2 separate regions of the Homo sapiens genome follow, and region 2 is linked to region 1. Evidence: promoter capture Hi-C in human tissues and cell types (Jung and others, 2019). All regions are on one chromosome and are shown on one strand. Each heading gives the region's core, a stretch centred on a gene start or on the middle of the fragment in contact. The rest is flanking DNA. Distances are from core to core; before and after follow the strand shown. Region 1 holds the start of TEX36 (testis expressed 36). Region 2 has its middle 6.0 kb from the start of TEX36-AS1.

Region 1 (2,666 bases), core at 79-2,578:
CAATATAGTGCGTCTTGGCAAGGCTGTGAGACGACAGAACTCCCTTGCACTGCTGCTGCTGGGAGTATTTCTTTACACCTGGGCTTTGGAGAGCAGTGGGCAATGCCTGGTAAAGGTGAAAAATAGTGTCTGTTGCACTGGGTTTGTCAGCAGGTAGCAGAAATCCTGGAAGGGTTTACTCCACACACAACAGTATTGCCTGGTACAGCAGCTCTGCAACACCAAAAGAGGTGGCCCACCACCTTTTCCTCCTCTCCTTACCATGTGGCTTTTGGCATCATAGTGCAAGAGGACCTGTGCATCTCCGGTGTCACATCTAAGGGCCACCTCTGGCCCTTCAGTGCTGGCAGTGGATAAGGTCCTCTATCACTACTACAGCAACTCTCCTTGGAAAACCTAGGAGGGTGACTGGAGGAGGAAAGGGTGGAGGACACAATTTCTGAGTGAGAGAGCAGCTGGACAGGTTGTCCTGCATGTGTTTACTCTCGTATTCACACGGAGTAGCCAAGAGAATTGGCAAGACACAACATTAAAAAAAAAAAGAAAGAAAGAAAAGCAGAAAACACCTTACTGAGTAGAAGGGAGGCAGGACGTGTGTGTCCAGGCCCCGAGAGAAACGCCAGATTTCACGAGCAGCCTTTGCAGCCCTGGGGATGCCAGGTGGCCCTTGGCAAGGCTCATGAGCTCTGGAGCTGGCCCATGACCTTGCTGGGACTTGTGGCATCCCATCCATTGCTGTATGTCCCTTGTTTCCTATTTGTAAATGTTGAAGGTTGTCGTGGAGAAAAAATAAAAACAGGTGAATGTTTAGTTTAGCACAGCACTTGGCATATAATAATTATTCATGAGTGTTACTTCCTCATGGTCTCAATGCTGTGCCAGGCAGGTAAGAGTGGCTGTGAGTGAGTCCTGAGGTTGGGTCCGAGCTGAGACACAGAGGCTGCCACAGAAGGAGATGGTAGGCAGCGTGGGTCCTGGGTGCAGCAGTGCCACTGATGCAGACAAGGTCACCCCCAGCCTGGGACTCAACTTACTTCTCTGAAAACTAACAGGTTGGAACATACAGTTGCCAGGGGGACATGCAACTCAAACATTATTGGTTCAAAAATTGAGAGGGTACAAAATGTTTGCCATTACCCCCAAATCATCTTGTCCTTACCTGTCTGAGCTGACCACAGGGCTTCCTCAGCTGGGACCTGGTGGCTCTTTGCCTCTTACCCTGGGGAGTCACAGCTGCAAGGAACCAGTGGCAAGAATCCTCCGAGGGTTTAGAAGACTCCTTTGCCCATTGTGATGGGTGAGTTCCCATTCCATGACAACAATGGGCACCCGCACCTTCCCCTCCTGGAAGAGGCTGAGAAGTAAAGATCAGGAACAAGGAGGAGGAGGAGCTTCCCAGACGTGTAGAGCTTATGAAGTTTAGGAAGCAGCTTCCCAGACATGTAGAGCTTATGGAGAGGTGAGGGAGCCAATCTCAGCCACATTCAGCTTCCTGGAGAGAATGACCAAAGGGCGACGCTTCAACCCACCTTCAGACAAGGATGGGAGATGGGTAAGGAAGATGGTGGCCCCTGGTGCCTTTCTCATGCCACGTGGGTGTGGTCAACAGTCTGAGGAGTTCCAATCCTGCTTCTACTATTACTGAAGCATGACCTTTGACAAATCACTTCACTTTACTCAACCTCAGTTTCTTCATCTGTGACATGGGAATCCTCTAACACTCTTGCAAAGATTGAATGAAATAATGCATGTAAAATGCTCAGCACACTGGAACCTCGTGAATGTCCACTAAGCAGTCATTCCTGCTCTACTTTTTCTTTCTTCCTTAACATCTATTTTCTAACATACTACAGAACTTATTCTCTTATCTATGTTATTTTTCTCCCCTTGCTAGAATATAAGCTCCATGGAGCTGGGATTTTTGTCTATTTTATTCACTGATGTATCCCCAGTGCCTAGAACAGGATCTGGAGCATAGAAGGCACTCAATACATATGTGTTGAAGTAATTATATTATACTAGAAACCTCTAAACAAATTCTTGTTGGCTCCCAATCCAATTCCTTTAGCCCCTCCGGCCTATGAAATGAGAAGAGTCCAGGAATGCATCATTTACTCATCTTCATCACTTGAAAACTTTCCCTTTCCAGCTTCACGCTCTCCCCCAACTCTTGCTCTTCTGATGTCACTTACAGAGCCTGTGGGATTTTTCACTCTTCTACCATCTTCAGGAAACATTTGGGTCACTCCTAAGTGTGAGGTCTTAGCCTTGTCGGCCAAGCACTTCTCTCCTTTGCTCTTCAACATGTATATTTCATGGCCGACAAGCCTCAAGCCTTTCCCATTTCTGATTTCTACAATTCATTCACAAAAAGAATGTTAAGGGGAAATCACAGCAGTAGACTCGCAATGAGAAACATAATCAGAGAAAAACCTGACGTCGACTTCTTTTAGGGTAGCAACAGGTAAAAAATTGTTAAAATTTTAATTTGTTTCAAAGAAAAACAGAAAACACTTCAGCAAATTTGGGTCTGAAGGCTTTAAAAAACTGATCTACCCACTTGGATACAACCTTGGCTAAGCAGCTTAGTCTTTCTAAGTCTCAGTTTCTTTGTCTGTAAAATGGGAGCATAATGTACCAAGGGTAGAAGACCATGGTGGGGGATT
Region 2 (2,666 bases), core at 104-2,603, 100 kb after region 1:
TTGAGAATGACAGGATTTAATTCAATTACTCAACCTTAGGGGGGAAAAAGGCAGAGACTGAACTGGCTTTAGGGATAATCCACAGACAGGCCATTCCTGATTAGTTTGGGTTCCCTAAAAGCTGACTCTGAGAGAAGTAGGTGAGTGCAGGTAGTTTACTTAAAAGGTGTTTCCAGAAAGTCCTTGTAAGGACCTGGGGGAAAAGTGGGACAGGAAATTGAGAATACCCAGGAGGATATGCCCGAGTGGGGAGTTACCCAGGAGGATGTGCCCGAGGGGCGAGTTACGCAGGAGGATGCGCCTGGGAGGATGAATTACCCAGGAAGATGTGCCTGAGTGGTGAGTTATGCTAGGGGCAACAGGGCCTTTCTGGTAGGGACCCTCTGAGAAGCCATCGCATCAGCATCAGCATCTTCTCGGTACTAGAATGGGAGGCTGGGGGTGTTTGTCAATCAACTCCCGTCCCCGACTGAGGGTTGCCCCTGGGAACCTAATCTCCCTGTTTAGGGTGTGCCTGGTTGCATCAGAGACAGAACAAGGTGGAGAAAGGCCTCAGGAAGAGGGGAAACATGTGGGGACTTGAGATGGGAGGGAAGCTGTCCCTAGGCTGCTGCTGCTAGAGAACTCAGGTGGGCCGGGGCTATGGAGTGGGCACCAACACCTTCTACTCTGAGCACAAATGTCCTTGGGACTCCTTTGTCTGTGTCTGCTGGTTTTTTCACTCTCTCTGACAGCAAGTGGGCTTTCTTCAGGTTGCTCCATCTCAGGCCACTCTGGGTTGAGGTCCTTAGAGATTATAGAGGACTCTTCCCTTCCAGCTCCAGGCAGGAAAGTCCCAGGAAAGGACTCTGATGGGCCTGGTTGTGTCATGTGACCATCCCTATGCCAATCATGGTAGTCAGGGTGATGGAAGATTATGATTGGGCCGGGATGGGTCATTTCCCTACCCCTGGTCAGAGGGATGGGGCCTGTAACTGGAAGCGGGAGGCTGAGGTCAGTAGAAGCTTGCACCCTTTCTGGTCATTGGACTTTGACCAGGACCAGCCAGCCCACCTAGCGGGCTTCAGTAATGTGGGCCCTTGGTGACAAGGGTTGGGGTCTGATCCCTTCCATCTCAGAAGCTTCTGGGACCTAAGTTTATGTTTTCTCTTTTCTTCCCTCCAGCAGTCTTCAAGCTCAAAAGTTTCTTTCCTCCCCTTTACCCCTCCAGGCACTGGGACAGGCAGGAAGCCACTTAAATCTCATAGCCCTGTCTAGCTGGTGTATTTTATGGTATTCTGGGAAAACTCTCCTCTTCCATTTATCAGGCATGAATAAAGTTGGAGAAAACCTTTTGACAAAGGGTACTACCACAAAAGAGCAAATGGAAAGTTTTTAAATATTTTTCACACCTTAGGGCACTTGACATTTTAGTTAGAGTCACGCTTTTGCTTTCCTGTACTAGAAATAAGACTTTCACTTGCCTGACTTTAATGAGTGTTAAAGGGATCCTTTCATGGTTTAAAGACAAGTCCAATGTGCAAGAAACTAGTGGTAAAAACCAAGCAGCCATTGGTTGGAGAGAAGCTGACACTCCAAAATATCCTCCTCCATGTCTAATAATACAGACCATGCCTTTTCAGAGCTGCATGTTCATTTATTCTTTTATTCAACTAATATTTATTAAGTACCCAACAGGTACTTTCTAAATCATGTTGACCAACATCTAACAACATTCTTGTTTTCAAGAAGCTTACTTCAAACTGGGGAGACTGTATTAGTCCATTCTCACATTGTGCTAAAGTACTACCTGAGACTAGGTAATTTATAAAGAAGGGAGGTTTAATTTCCTCACAGTTCCACAGGCTGTACAGGAAGCATGGCTGGGGAGGCCTCAGGAAACTTACAATCATGGTGGAATGTCAAGGGGAAGCAGGCATGTCTTACATGGCCAGAGAAGGAGGAAGAGAACAAAAGGGAAGGCGCCACACACTTTTAAACAACCAGGTCTCACGAGAATTCACTCACTATCATGAGAAAAGCAAGGAGGAAATCCACCCCCATGATCCAATCACCTCCCATCATGACCCTCCTCGAACAATGGAAATTACAATTCAACATGAAATTTGGGCAGGGACACAAATCCAAACCAAATCAGAGCAAGAAGATGGGCTTGAAGGAATGAGAAAGCAAGTGACATGATTTGACTGTGTCCCCACCCAAAATCTCATCTTGAATTGTAATCCAAATTGTAATCCCCACGTGTTGGGTGAGGGGCTTCATGGGAGGTGATTAGACCATGGAGGCAGTTCCCCCATGCTGTTCTCATGATAGTGAGTGAATTCTCATGAGACCTGGTGGTTTTATAAGGGGCTTTGCCCCCCTTCCCACTGCATTTTTCCTTCCTGCTGCCTTGTGAAGAAGGACGTGTTTGCTTCCTCTTTCACCATGATTGTAAGTTTCCTGAGGCCTTCTCAGCCATAAGGAACAGTGAATCAAGCCTCTTTTCTTTATAAAGTACCCAGTCTCAGGCAGTTTTTTATAGCAGCATGAGAACGGACTAATACGGCAAGCTTCTTTCCAAGAATGAGTGTGCCAGAAATGAAGTAAAGCAGAAGTTATTCAGGGAAGCCTCACCAAGGAAGGCATTTTTGAGTCAATATCTGACTAATCAGGAGTCCTTTCTG

The links. The method cuts DNA at HindIII sites, captures the fragments that hold promoters and counts their contacts. A contact is called where the count stands out against the background at its distance.
Region 2: a fragment that was not itself captured here is called in contact with the fragment with the promoter of TEX36 in region 1 in 2 of the 25 tissues and cell types used here (mesendoderm cells and thymus).

Annotation. Positions count from the first base shown.
Region 1 is chr10:125,681,825-125,684,490 of GRCh38, reverse strand. It overlaps TEX36 (testis expressed 36), which reads left to right and starts at 1,328. Exons shown (of 4, transcript NM_001128202.3): 1 at 1,328-1,552. The coding sequence starts at 1,502. It overlaps LOC283038 (a long non-coding RNA gene), which reads right to left and starts at 1,248. Exons shown (of 5, transcript NR_033848.1): 1 at 1,160-1,248. The HindIII fragment of the contact is 13,590 bases long and covers 1-2,666 here.
Region 2 is chr10:125,579,037-125,581,702 of GRCh38, reverse strand. It overlaps a transcript of TEX36 not described here. Among named protein-coding and RNA genes, the nearest start is that of TEX36-AS1, 6.0 kb to the right of the region's middle. The HindIII fragment of the contact is 4,573 bases long and covers 1-2,666 here.